Linked DNA regions of Homo sapiens: regions 1 and 3 are each linked to region 2. Evidence: promoter capture Hi-C in 16 types of primary human blood cells and fetal thymus (Javierre and others, 2016). All regions are on one chromosome and are shown on one strand. Each heading gives the region's core, a stretch centred on a gene start or on the middle of the fragment in contact. The rest is flanking DNA. Distances are from core to core; before and after follow the strand shown. Region 1 overlaps NPAS2 (neuronal PAS domain protein 2). Region 2 holds the start of NPAS2 (neuronal PAS domain protein 2). Region 3 overlaps LOC105375310 (a long non-coding RNA gene).

The links. The method cuts DNA at HindIII sites, captures the fragments that hold promoters and counts their contacts. A CHiCAGO score of 5 or more calls a contact.
Region 1: a contact is called between a fragment that was not itself captured here and the fragment with the promoter of NPAS2 in region 2, in 1 of 17 cell types (endothelial precursors). The highest score is 7.0, in endothelial precursors.
Region 3: a contact is called between a fragment that was not itself captured here and the fragment with the promoter of NPAS2 in region 2, in 3 of 17 cell types (endothelial precursors, M2 macrophages and M1 macrophages). The highest score is 8.8, in endothelial precursors.

The regions. Positions count from the first base shown.
Region 1 is chr2:100,944,056-100,948,999 of GRCh38, reverse strand. NPAS2 (neuronal PAS domain protein 2) reads right to left here. Exons shown (of 21, transcript NM_002518.4): 6 at 645-765. Among named protein-coding and RNA genes, the nearest start is that of NPAS2-AS1, 31 kb to the left of the region's middle. The HindIII fragment of the contact is 5,412 bases long and covers 1-4,928 here.
Region 2 is chr2:100,818,825-100,823,223 of GRCh38, reverse strand. NPAS2 (neuronal PAS domain protein 2) reads right to left here and starts at 3,085. Exons shown (of 21, transcript NM_002518.4): 1 at 2,810-3,085. The HindIII fragment of the contact is 7,542 bases long and covers 1-4,399 here.
Region 3 is chr2:100,727,727-100,732,592 of GRCh38, reverse strand. It overlaps LOC105375310 (a long non-coding RNA gene), which reads left to right. Exons shown (of 3, transcript XR_001739612.2): 1 at 1-1,149. Among named protein-coding and RNA genes, the nearest start is that of LINC01868, 50 kb to the right of the region's middle. RefSeq lists a silencer at 1,952-2,246. The HindIII fragment of the contact is 395 bases long and covers 1,061-1,455 here.

The DNA of each region.
Region 1 (4,944 bases), core at 973-3,472, 130 kb before region 2:
CAGATGTACGACAGGACAGATTATTCATGGAAAATGGACACAGGCTTGCACTGATGCAAGCAGCTTTGCTACCTCATGCAATTGTGTATGCTTCATTAAGTGACCCGTGGTTCACGAGGCATCAAGGTTAGCCTTCTACCTAGGTTGCCAAATATTTTGATAAAAACGTCTGAATTCCACAGAACACAAAAATGTATATAAATAACCAGGTGAGAGCCTCAGGAGGACAGAATTTGGATTTTTGACCTAATTATTCCGTTTTCAGTTGGTTTCTTGATATTATATGAATTTAGTATCTTAGTATCCTCCATGATGAGCTGATTGTTCACTGATGTTTGCACTGTTTCTTACTAAAAGACTCTCATGCAAAAAAAAAGAGAAATCTTATCATATACACAAAATAAATTATTATTCTTGAGTTCTCTGCTTTCAAATTTTCCACATAAAAGCCAAATGTCTTACATATTCCAAATTCCAGTTTTAGCTTTAAACCTAAAATATACCTCTAAGGATCTTGGAAATGTTCTGAGTCATGAGGAAAATTATTCTTAAAATTAGTTCTCCCTTCTTAATTCATTCTAACCTCCTTTCAAAAGCAAAATTCTTATCTTTCTAGCTTGTAAAACCAGAAAAATTAAACTTACATTTTAAGTATTCTGGGGAGGGGGAATCCGTCACAAGCATATGGGAAGAAAGGATTTTATAAACTTCTGAATGTTCTTGTTCTGGGAGGAAATTTAACAAATTCTGATCCATGACATCCGACTGAAAAAGAAAATAAAGGACAAAGGTACACCCTCAACGAAGATGAAAAACAGAAGCAAAAACAAAAATTGAACATTCACAACAACGCAGAACTGGTTTCTGAAATGGAAAGTTCAATATCTGATTTTCTGTGGACACTCTCAGTTTATCACTCCATTGTTTTAAATAGTAACCTAAAGGGCTGTATTTGTTCAAATGCATATGTGCTGTTGTCTGTGGGCCAAGGAGGGAACTAAGAGTGAAGTCAGACAAATGTAGGAAGGACTGAGTCCTCCTGTTGCTTGAGAAGTGCTGTTTGCTGACACTCCTGCGTTTTGGCTGGGGTAGCATGGCCCCTGTGCACGCCCAGTGCGAGGCCAATCATTGATTTAAATGGCTCCAAAGAGCCCACAGGGTTCCTTTCCTGACCCTTAGGGCAGCAAAGGGCTGCCAGTCTACTTCGTAAAGGTCTTTAAGTTATGGAACTGCACGTTTTCTTCTGAGTGCCTTGGCACTGTGGTTACAAAATAAATACAAGGTAGAGTTCAGATTGAGTGCTGTCCAATAGAACTGTCTGTGATGATGGAAATGGTCTGTAATCTGTGCTGCCCGTAACAGGAGCCACTAGCCACATGGTTACTGAGCACTTGAAACGTGGCTAGTGTGAACAAGGAACTGAATTTTAATTTGTTTTTTTTTTTTTGAGACAGAGTGTTGCTCTTGTTGCCCAGGCTGGAGTGCAATGGTGTGATCTCGGCTCACTGCCAGCCTCCACCTTCCAGGTTCAAGCGATTCTCCTGCCTCAGCCTCCCAAGTAGCTGAAACTACAGGTGTTTGCCACCATGGCCGGCTAATTTTTTGTATTTTTAGTAGAGACGGGTTTCACCGTGTTGGCCAGGCTGGTCTTGAACTCCTGACCTCAGGTGATCCGCCCACCCCGGCCTCCCAAAGTGCTGGGATTACAGGCATGAGCCATCAAGCCTGGCCCATTTAATTTGAATTGAAATTTAAACAGCCACATGTAGCTAGTGGCTACCATATTGGATATGCAGGTAGGAGCTCACAGTGGACCGAGGAGACAGGCACCTCTCTCTTCCTCAGTTTCCCTCAATAAACCCATCCACTCTCACAGCTTCAAACACAATCTGTATACACTTTCAGGTTTGAATATCCAGCCAACTCTCTCATGTTCCAGCCTCAGCCTTCCAACTGCCACTCAGATGCTCCCTGGGGACCACAGATGAATACATGTCCTGAACATCGGCATTCTTTCCCACCCATATCATCTCCAACCCTTGTGTTTGCATCTCCATCAACAGTATCATCAGTTGGTCATCTGCCTGTCCCAGACCCTCTGGTGGCGCCTTTGTCTTCTCTCCTTCTCGTCCTTACCCTCAAACCAAACAGTGTCCATAGTACTGCCCATTTTTCTCCCTCAAATTCTCTGCTCCATTCACTTCTATTTCTCCAGCTTCCACCCTAGTCCAGACCCCCATCCTCTCTTGCCTGGGAATGATTTGGCCAAACTGGTCTTCCCACATCCACTTTAGTGCCTGTGCAATTTGTTCTCCATCAGCAGTCAGAGGAGCCTCATAACAGATCAAGTCACAACTGTCCCTTGGCTTCCGACTGCTCCAGGAACAAAGCCTCAACTGCTCAACACAATTTCACAGCTCTTCACAGCTCAGCCTCTGCCTCTCCCAGCTCCCAGCACTTCTCTAATCCTTCCGAGCCTTTTTTCCTCCAGTTTGCCTTCTGTTCTCCCCGAGCCTCACCTGGGCTGTTCCCTCAGGCAGGAACATGCTGCACCCTCCCCTTGTGTTTAACGAAGCCCTGTGCAACCTTCAGGTCCCTGCTTTGAAGTCACTTCCTCTGAGAAAGCCCCAGGTGACACCCTCCACCCCCACTGATGATTTAAGGGGCTCTGAGGGGACAATGACCCCCTTGATGGGACATCAGGTGACATGGCAAGGCGTGAGAGCTCAGAGCCCAGGCTTGAAAGCAGGTTCTACCCCTCCATGCTGCATTTTCCTCAGCTGCAAGGTGAGGAAACCATGAAGGTTCCATGAGCTCACCTGCCTCCACTGCTGATAAAACAGCACGTGGCAGACATTCAATAAATGCCAAGTGCGATTAGGCACTGAATGACCAGTTACAGAATGACTACAAGGGCACCTGCACCACAGTAACGTTTTCCTGTACAGCTATGTGCTGAGTTGAGCATTCCGCCTCCCTCTCTCCAACAGGAGCTTCAGGAGAGCAGGGCCCAGTGCCTTGTTCACCACCACATCCCTGATGTCCAGGATGGTGACTGAACTGACCAGCTGAAAGAATGGCGTGGCCAGCACTATGACAGGCATTAAAACAAGGTGCCCGGAGAACACTGTGGATGGTGTGCTGCCTCCACAATGAAAGGGTAGAGGAGACTCCTGGGGAACAATTTCCAGAGGGAGGAATCCTTGAGTGGGAGCCAGGGGACAAGACAGTGTCTGCCAGACAGGGTGGGAAGGTGCTCCAGCCAGGGGGCTCAGCATGCACAGAGGCATAAGGTGGGTACCCTGACAGCACTGCAGGAAGGTGGGAACAACAGGGAGGGCGAGAAGCCATGACAGAGGAGGTTGCACAGGGAAGCAGGGCCCAGATGAGAGAGGCCTCGGAGGAGTCAGGGCTCGACCCTGTGCCAGGAGGAGCCACGAAGAACCTGAAGGAAGGGGGTGGCAGAACTGCTCGTGCATTTTAAAGAGATCCTGCTTGTAGTCTGGAAGGAGAGAGCACTGGAAGTCAGGCTGGCAATGGCCAGGGTCCCAAGAGAGACAGGGGAAGGAGTGGAGAGGAGCAGACAGAGTCCCAGGCAACTCATCAATATCGTAGTCCAAACAATACTTGCTGAGGGCCGCCATGTGCCAGCCGCTGTTGGGCATGGGGAAGACACGTTGGGAAGCAGGCAGAGCCCCTCCCTGCCTGCAGTCAGTGTTCCGGTGGGTGTGAGGACAGTGGACACAGCTTGGTGGCTGATCGGAGGACAGGAGGAGGGAAAGGAAGGACTCAGCATGGCTTCCAGGCTCTGGCTCGGACGCACCGGTCTTTATCTTTATGGACGAAACTCTACCAGGATCCTCTCTCGTCTATGCTACCATTTCTCATTCTGGCTTTCTCCAAGTTTCTTCGGATGTTCCTGGTTTTATTTTAAGCCCATTCTCTCTAGTTTTTTTAGAAGATGACTCATGTTCACAGATGACAGTAGTCTTTCTTCATAAAGATATTTCAAATACTTGAAAATGAAAACTAAGTGACTCCATGGCCTCTTCTTGGAGGGCTCCATCTGAAGCCACTTCCCCTGACGGTGGGTGTGGCAGAGAGCAAGGCTGAGTGGCTGCCTGGCCGGGTCACCTGTGTGAGAGAACTTTACTGATACAGGTCCGAGGGCCAATATCAGGACACGGGTTCTGCACAGAATAAAGACGAACGCTGGATGCAAGTAGGGGCAGGTATGATATGTGGGAGGTTGCGAGGATGGTGAATTAACACACAGAAAGGGCCCCAGACTGTGCTTGGCTCTTGCATGTATTTGCTAGTACATTGCTATTATGCTACTTCCACATGCTGAAAACCAACACAAACAATGATAACTTGAAATTTTTAACCCTAGTGCTTACAGGTGAGAAAATTACATCGGCAGTTGAACGGTCCCTTGAATGAGCTGAGTTCTGTTTATTAAAATAATAGCAATTATGGAGACAAGGGAGGGAATGTGCCATCCACAGCCGTCTTTACAGCCGAGTCCCACGATCGGGAAGGTCACCTGCCTGTGGAGGTGGGCAGTCCTCTCTCCTAATTGCCTGACGGGCCTTGAACCAGCAGCACCAGTGCAGGGACACCCAGCTATGTTAAATGAGCCTGTACTAAAAGCACACTGAGGCTGAGCTGGAAGTAGGCTGGATGGACACTTCCTCCCAGAGTGTCCCTGAGGCGCTCTGGCAGTTTTGGCTTGAGATCTGTGCTGGCTGCAGTGAGAAGAGGCAATGGTGAGCAGCCCTGGAGAAACTTCACCTTGAGAAAAGAACGGCTTAAGAGAAGTCACTGGGGCCTTGGTCTCCCTAAAGGTCCAGGAAGTTGGAGGCATATTTGATCCACTTAGATTCAGTTTAGATTCAAAGTCAAACTAACGGCCATATGGTTAAGCTTTCAGAAGGTAGTGTA
Region 2 (4,399 bases), core at 1,836-4,335:
TGCCCTGAGATACTATTAATCATCATCACCTTGAGATTTAAAATAGAATTACTCATAGTTAAGTACCCCATTAGCATTCAGAAATTTCTCACCTTTGGATAGTGACCACCAACAATTCAGCTCATTTCCCACACCTATTTACTGAGCATCTATTCTGAACAAGGCCCCATCGAGATGAGATGCTGTGGGGAATATGAAATGTGACAGTCCCTGACCTCCCATCTTTGCTACAAATAGAACGAGGATCAGGAACATGCTAATCAGACACTTCTGTAAGCAAATAATGCACCAAGTACCCTATCCACTATTTAAATGTGAAACTCAATTAGATGCTTGCTATGATGCAGCCAATTAAACCGTTGGCATAAAGCAGCCAAGAATACTGAGTCACTGGGCTATTTTCAACACCTCGAAATCTGACCTCTCTTGGGAAAGAGTTGCACCGTGCATGGAATCAGCATGGGACAGTGTCGTGATCACACTGGGAGAACCGACGATTCATGTAAAGAACAAAACACATGCTTGTTTTAAAAATTAAGAAAGAAGACTTAGCCCTTTGGGTTCTTAAGATTCAAAAGCAAGACTCTGAAAAAATGAACATATAAAGATGGTTAAATTAAAAAGTATACGCATGCCTTATTATTTTATTCTGAAAAAATTAACTTTCAGTTTTTAATCTAATAAGTTGCAGTGTTGAGTGAGCTATAAAGATTACCAAGAGTTAAGAAAGATTGTTCAAAAAAATAGGGTGAATTCAACTTAAACATGGCACACATCAGGTTATATGTGTTATCTTTAACGATTTTCATCATTTGCATTATTAAACAGCCAGAAATTTTTTTAAAGGGCCCAAACTGTTTTAAGAGAACCAAATGAGCTTAAAAACAATTGTTGTTTTCTACATAAAGATCAATTCTTTAGTCATCATCTGAACACTCTCTCATCAGACCACTAATTAGTAAAGCCTCACTTGGTTATTTTTGGCGTGGTTAACTCTTTGGGGGTAACGTTTTATTAATAACATATTTCCTCTAGAACGTATTTCCTTCTTTCACCTCCACAGGAGCCCCTCTGGGAAGCAGTGAGAATAAAACCGATTCTACATTTACGCACAGTGGGACAGATCAGCAAATAAATAGAGGCATCGATTTCCAAGAAGAAAACGGCTAAAAGCAGCGCATTTACAATTCTTCTAAGCCATACTCCACATCTCTCTGTGAGATGGAAGATAATTACTGAACGTCTTTACTTTGCACACTTTATTTTTAACTAAATATTTAAGTAGACTGCTGAGAGATACCAATACTTCTACTGGTCCTGGTTTAGCGCTGTAATGAAACACTGAATTTTTGCTTTTATAAAATAGTGGCGCAGGTCAGGATAACTCTTTTAAACATTACACTATTTATTTGGGGGTTATTTTTGGCTAACTTTTTCCTTTAAGGACATCTTAGTGGCAGGAAGATGGAGCTAGTGTGTGCGCTTGAATGTGAACAGTGCCTCCCAAGGAGGGCAGCTCTGTGTTTAATGCAAGCCATAATTAGTTGGTCAATTCACTGATGGGGACCAAGCTACAGTGAGAGAGAGATGCTGGCAGAGATGTCTTGCTGGGAACTACTTTAGAACTAATTACCTGGGAAGTTCAAACAGGAAAAACCTTTCTATTAAGGAAAATAAGGTTTGGGTTCTAAATGATCAAGACGGTTTAGCTCGTCTCTGCTGATTAAGTTAATTTAATAAGTGATCAATGTTTTACCTGTAGGAAAACAGGCTAACCACTTTAATGAAGTTGGGGTGGATGCCAAAGCAACGCGTAAAGACGAAACTCCTCTCCGGGACCCTCCTGAACACCTGTTGAACTCCAGGGCTTCTAACTTTCCGTACTAAAGCCTCCCGGACACAAGCTCGGGAGTGTTTAGACTTTGTGGAAGTGCGTGCGTATATTCAAGGTTTCCATCTTGCTTAATCAACAAAACTAGTTACTAATTATTTATGAATCACAGGGCTGAAACAAACTTTCTTACCTTGAGCAATTAAGGAGTGGCAAGCAGAGGAGCGGGACTGGTTCTGAATTTAGCCGGGTGGTGCCTGTCCCTTCCCTGGTTACCGACCTGCCCAGCTCTTCAGAAAGGTCAAAGGTGCGTCCCTCCTCGGCTGGGAAAGGGGCACATCTCCCAACAAAACCATACGCATACATCCAACCTGGGGAGCTCCGGAGTTGGGGTGGGGGGGCGGCAGCGACGTGAGGAGCCAGGCTGCACGCTGTCTGCGCACACGGGGGTTGGGGGCACCGATTCCGCACCCAATCCGGCCCGGAACCAATTCCGACCCAGGGACTCCGAGAGACCGCGGGCCCAGGGCGCGCACGCCGCACTCTCCGGGGGTCCAGGACGCCCGACGTTTCGGAGGGTAGCGCGATGGGTCTCGAAGACAACCACGGGCAATCCCCAAAGCTGTTGCCCTGGGGCACGATCCTTCTCCACCCTGTCGGACACCCCGAGGACCCCCAAATTCCGAGGCTCGGATGCCCAGTCCTCTGTCTTCTGCGTCGAGACGCGCCCGGAGCCCACCGGCCCAGCGATTGCTACCTCCTGCAGGACGCGAAGCCCCCAGCGGCCTGACTGTGGAGGGGAACCCACCTCTCCGCGCCCCCGCGTCCGGGGTCCCCGGTGCCGCGCAGCCTCGCGCCTGAGCGCCCCTCCGCCCCCGCGCGTCCTCCACGCTGGCGAGCAGGTGACCGAGTCCTGCGACCCCGCGCGCACGTACTACCCACCCTGGGTCCCCCGCGCCCCTAGGCGCGGCCCCTTACCTCGGAGCGGGCCGGAGCGGCCCCGCGGGGCCGGGCGCGGACTGGGCCGGGGAGACGCGCCTCCCGCCGCCGCTGGGAGACGAGGCGGCGAGCGGGCGCGGCGAGCTCCTCCCGGGCGGCGGCGGGAGGCGCTGCTCTAGCTGCTGCCGCCGCCGCCGCCGCCGCCGCGGCTGCGGGTCTCCGGGCTCCGCGGCCGCCGCTCCTGGGCCGCAGCCGCGCGGGTCCCTCGGCTCCTGCGAGAGGCCGGCTGCTCGCGCGGCAAACTCTTCCGCACGCAGAGCCGGCGGGGAGAGCCGCCTCCGCCTCTGCCTCCTCCCCTGCCTCCTCCCTCCACCCTCCTCCCTCTCCACCTCCCCCTCCTACCCCCACCCTCCTCCTCCTCCCCTCGCCTGCCTCCGCCTGCGGGGTCTCTCCTGGCCCCGACCCAGCCTGGGACAAGCACCCCGCGCGCGCCGCAGGCAGACGGACCCCCGGCCCCCTAGACCCCCGGCTTCCCTGGGCGGCGCAGACACCCGCGAGTCCCCAGGCCGCCGCAGCCTCTGCTGGGCTGCCAGGGACGCGCGGCGGGGTCGGGCCTGGGGCGCAGGGTCGGGGTTGGGCGCCGGGGCTGGGGGAGGGGGGGGTTGTGCTTCCAGGTGAGCCGGCCCAGAGGAGAGGCAAGTGGACTAGAGGCTGCCAGCCGAGGTCCCATTAAAGTTGTCACTCGGGGGGAACAAGGAATCTGCCGCCCCCGCCTAGTGTAGACCCTCGCAGTGCGGGCCGCCACCCTGCTGTCCCGCGCAGGGGATGAAGGGGGACGAGCACGCGACTGTCACCCCCTCCACACTGTCCTCCAGGGGCAGGGTTGCGCGCAGGTCTCGACCCAGGGCACAAAGCGCGTCTCTGCGGGGACCACTGCGATTTCTCAATGAGCGGCGGGGGTGCGGCCCGGGGGCAGGTGGGAGGCGGGGGTCGGGGAAGATGCGGGCGAGCGGTGGTCGGCGGAGGACAGCAGCGACTGCTGGGGAGGAATAACCAGTGCCTGTCCTAAGGCGAACGTAGCTGGTCCGGAAAATGGGTCAAGGATGGAAAGGAACCGGCTAATTGCCCCCCTCCCCGGCAGGGGCACGTGGGGTGTGGGGCTGCGGCCAGGAGCGGGCACTTGGAGCTCCACTCTGCCTCTCCCTCCCCTCCTCCGCTGCCCTCCTCTCCTTTTGCACCAGTGCAGGAAATGTTCCACTGACCTACATATTTTTCCAAACATACGTGACCTTTTTTTTTTTTTCCTCTGTGGGAGGAGACAGGCGAGAATCCAAGAAAAAGAAGCTGGAGAGAGAGGCGCGCGCGAGAAACAGGGAGGATTTTACCAAGGTTCCCGCAAACGCCAAGCGGAGGGAGGCAGAGGTACAGGAATAATCCCCGGGTGCCGGGGCTGCTGTCTGATGCCCTTCGGGGCTCCAAGACAGAGCCGGTGAAAACCGGAGACCGTGTGCCCCGCCGAGGTCCGGAAACGTGGCCGGTTTCCCCTTCACCTGGGCGGCGGCGTTCACAGCGGGGAGGCGCCTGGGTGGAAGCCCGGGAGAGGGGAAAGGTCCCCCTGCCCGCTCCCAC
Region 3 (4,866 bases), core at 9-2,508, 89 kb after region 2:
CATGGGAATGTTTCTAATCCTTTACTGTGGCCACCCTTCTCCAAACTCTGCGGAGGGAGATTGCAGGCTGACCCTACCATGGTGCAGCATTTGGACCATGACTGTCTGGGGGCACGAAGTGCTTTGTGATTTGGTTTAAGGGTGAAATCAGTGGTTCCAAACATTGAGCGCACATTAAATCACCTTGGAACATTGCATTGCAAGAATGCCCAGTTTCCATCCCTGAGCTGCACTAATCAGACTTTCTGGGATATGACGGTTTGGGTGATGTCGTTTTCATAGATTTAAAAGTGATTCTGAAGAAAAGCAGGGTTGAGAACTGCTGTTGAGTTCTTGATGTATGGATTGAGAAATTCGTTCTGAATCGAAACACCCTGTCATCCACTAGTTAAGAAAAATTAACTCTGTTTGCTACTGGTCCCCAAATGGGGCCAGTTGGGCTCTTATGGGAGGGCCCAGCAAATCTGAAACCTTGTTAGTGTACTCCAGACTTCTGCCTCATGCCTGTGTCCTTGGAAACCTAGGCTCCTCCTCTTGCCCTGTGATCCCAGGGGTCTGGCAGGTGAAGGTTTCAGCCATGTTTCACAGTGGGACACCTGCCATGGCTCACAAAGTTGTTGACTGTACGAATTCTGTGTAGTGTCCACTCATGTCCTCCCTGCCCACACCAGCCCTGCCCAGCTGTCTACATGAATCCTGGCAGGACTGAGGGAGGCAACTGAATCCAACCATCCTCACACAGGACAAAGCTATTGTTATGACTAACAATAAGTCACTCTCTATCCGTCTTAATTGCATCAGATCTACTGTTATTTAAACATTGCGTTTATAGTCCTTCTCCTCAAGTAGAAAGTAAGATTCATGAGAGCAAAGATCTTTATTGTGTCACTCACTGCTATGTTGCCATTGCCTAGAAAGGTGCCAGGCATATAGTAGACACTTAATTTACACATGATGCATGAATGGATGATGCAATAGCACCCATTTATGGAGTATGTATTATGTGCCAGGCTCTATATCACTTCACATGTATCATCATGTTTAATTCTCACAACAAGCTTAAGAGGGAGGTGCTACTATCTGTTCTCATTTTAGAGAAGCGGAAATTGAAATTCAGACAAGTTTACACACCTGCCCAAGGTTACACAGGTAGGAAGAAGCAAAGCTAGGACTTGAACCCATGACTTTTCAACTGCAAAGACCACGATCCTAACTATTATATTATACTCATTCCTCTTGCTGGGTATGGTGCAGGGACATGTATTTAGCAAGGACTGGCTGCTTGTCTGTCAGCCAGTCACAATCTGGTTGACTCTGGCACTGAGTAGTCATGTTAGTGGCACAATCTCCAGGGAGAGTTATTGCAATCTAAGGGCTGAAAAGGAAATAGATTCCTATACCTTACTCCCCAAATCCAAGGTTCTTCAGGATATCTACTGCAATGCTAGACAAGCTTATTAACTTTTTTTTTTTTTTTTTTTGAGACAGAGTTTCACTCTTGTTGCCCAGGTTGGAGTGCAATGGCGCAATCTCGGCTCACTGCAACCTCCGCCTCCCAGGTTCAAGCGATTCTCCTGTCTCAGCCTTCCAAGTAGCTGGGATTACAGGCATGCACCACCGCGCCTGGCTAATTTTTGTATTTTTAGTAGAGATGGGGTTTCTCCATGTTGGTCTGGCTGGTCTCGAACTCCCAACCTCAGGTGATCCACCCGCCTCGGCCTCCCAAAGTGCTGGGATTACAGGCGTGAGCCACCGTGCCCAGCCAACTTTTTTTTTTTTTCGGAAGTTTACCCTAGCAGCATATTGAAAGGGCCAAGGTGAGATCAAAGTATGTCTCTCTTGGGTAGTGAGACCCTGAATGACTTTTATTTTACCCTTTATATTTTTCTGCAATGCATATGTATATTCATTATAACAAAGATCCCCAAGTGCATTAGCCTACGTGAGTTCAAAGATTATTTTTGCCTCAGGTAAACAGTCCAGGGCAGAAAGGTGAGCTCTGCTTCATAAGGTCATCAAGGTTTCCAACTGGCCCAGCATGTCTGCCTTCAACATGTGGCTGTTCTTTGGGTTAAGGCTCCTGCTCCAGTTGTTCTCAACTTCGTGGTTGAAAGTAGCTCGCCAGCACCACCTCCAGGAGAGGGGCTGGAGGATTAGGAGAATCTCAACAGCTTCATCTTTAAGTAATTACTTATATCCCACTGCCCAAAACCTAGTTACATGGTTACAACTAGCTGCAGGGTTGAGGTTCATGTTTTTGTGTGTATAAATGCCAACACAATTTGTTGAAAACACTATCATTTCTTCATTGAATTTCCTTTGCACATTTGACAAACAAGATTGATTTGTGTCTATTTCTGTACTTTCTATTCTGTTCTGTTGATCTATGTGTCTCTCCCTCTGCCAATACCACACTGTCTTGATTCTTATAAGTCTTAAAATTAGATAGTGGGATTCTTCCAAAGCCAATTTTCTTTTGGCTATGCTAGTTTCATTGCCTTTTATATGAATTTCAAAATCAGCTTGTCAAATATCTGCAAAAAATTCTGCTAGAGTTTTGATTGACATTACATCAAAAGCATAGATTGATTTGGGTAAAATTGTCCTTTTTCTTGTTGAGTCTGCCAATCCATGAACATAGTATGTTTCTCCATATATTGAGGTCTTCTTTGAGTTATTTCATCAGCATTTTAGTGTTTTCAGCACATAGATTCTATGTATGTTTTGTTAAAATTATTTATACGTATCTCTTTTTGGGGGGGAGCTCTTATCATTTTTTGTTTGTTTCTGATTGTTTATTACTATCTTTATAAATATACATGATTTTTTGTATTGACCTTATATTCTAGAATGTGTTTAAACTCAGTATTATGTTTTCCCCAAAAATTTACATATTGAAGCCAGTTAACTGTATTTGGAGATAGGGGTTTTAAGGATGTAATTAAGGTTAAATGAGGTCATAATGGTGGGTCTCCAATCCAATAGGACTAGTGTCCTTATAAGAAGAGGAGAAGATACCAGGAATGCAAGTGTAGAGAAAACATCATGTAAGCAAGAAGGCAGTGATCTGCAAGCAAAGGAGAGAGGACTCACCAGAAATCAACTTGCTAGCACCTTGCTCTTGGACTTCTAGCTTATAGAAGTGTGAGAAAATAAATTTCTTCGGTTTAAGCCCCTCAGTCTGCAGTATTGTGTTATGTAGCGCTAGTGGACTAATACACTCACTGATTCCTTAAAGGAGCTTTTGGTAGACTTCTTGGGTTTTCTATATAGACAATTGTGTAAACTGCAAATAGGGAAAGTTTTATGTCTTCCTTCCAATCTGTATGTATTTTATTTATTTTTCATGCGTTATTGCAGAGTCTAGAAGTTCTAGTGTTATGACGTATACTGTGGTGATAGTGGACATCCTTCCCTGGCTTTGTTCCTGACCTTAGGGGCAAAGTATTCAGTTTTTCCCCATTAAGTATGATATTAGATGCAGGTTTTTGTTGATGCTCTTTATCAGGTTGAAGTGATTCCCTCTATTCCTAACTTGCAGATAATTTTTATCATGAGGTAGTGTTGTAGTTTGTCAAATATTTTTTCTGTGTCAATTTACATTATCATATGATATTTCTCCTTAGCTTATTGACACAGTGGATAACTTTGAATGATTTTTTGAATGATGAAGCAATCTTGCGTAACTAGAATAAATCTTACTTGGTTGTGGTGTATAAGTTCTTTTATATATTGCTGGATTCCATTTGTTAATATTTTGTTGAATATTTTGACATTTAGATTCATGAGAAACAGCCTGGGCAACATGACAAAACCTCATCTCTACCAAAAAGACAAAAATTAGCCAGGGGTGGTGCATGCCTACAGTCCCAGCTACTTGGGAGGCTAAGGTGGGAGGATCACCTGAGCCTGGGAGGTGGAGGCTGCAGTGAGCTGTGATCATGCCACTACATTCCAGGCTGGGTGACAGAGCGAGGCCTTGTCAAATAAATAAATAATAAATAAGTAAATAAATTGATGAGAGATATTAGTTTGTAGATTTAATTTTTATACTGTCTTTGTCTGGTTTTGATATCAGGGTAAAAATGGGCTCATAAAATTAGGCGGGATATATTCCCTCCTCTTTTCTGGAAGAGATTGTGCATATTTAGTGTTATTTCTTATATGTGTGGTAGAAGTTGCCAGTGAAACCATCTTGGCTTGGAGATTTCGTTTGTAAAATTTTTAAACTATAAATTAGTACTATTCAGGTTATCTGTCTCATTTTGAGTGAGTTTGGGTAGTTCGTGGTTTTTAAGGAATTGATCCATTCCATCTAAGTTGTTGAACTTATGTATGTGGAGTTATTCACAGTATTTCTTTATTGTCATTTCAGTGGCTGTGGGATCTATGGTTAGTTTTATTTTTTAAATATTTCTTGTTACATTTCACAAGAAAGCATGCTGCATTGGTTTTTATAAGAAAGTCTGTTCTAGACACTTCTCAAAAGAAGACATTCATGCAGCCAACCAACATATGAAAAAAAGCTCATCACTGATCATTAGAGAAATGCAAATCAAAACCACAATGAGATACCATTTCACACCAGTCAGAATGGGAATTATTAAAAAGTCAAGAAAAAACAGATGCTGGCGAGGCTGTGGAGAAACAGGAATGCTTTTACATTATTGGTGGGAATGTAAATTAGTTCAACCATTGTGGAAGACGGTGTGGTGATTCCTCAAGGATCTAGAACAGAAATATCATTTGACCCAGCAATCACATTACTAGGTATATACCCAAAGGAATATAAATCATTCTATTATAAAAATACATGCATGTGTATGTTCGTTGCAGCACTAGTCACAATAACAAAGACATAGAATT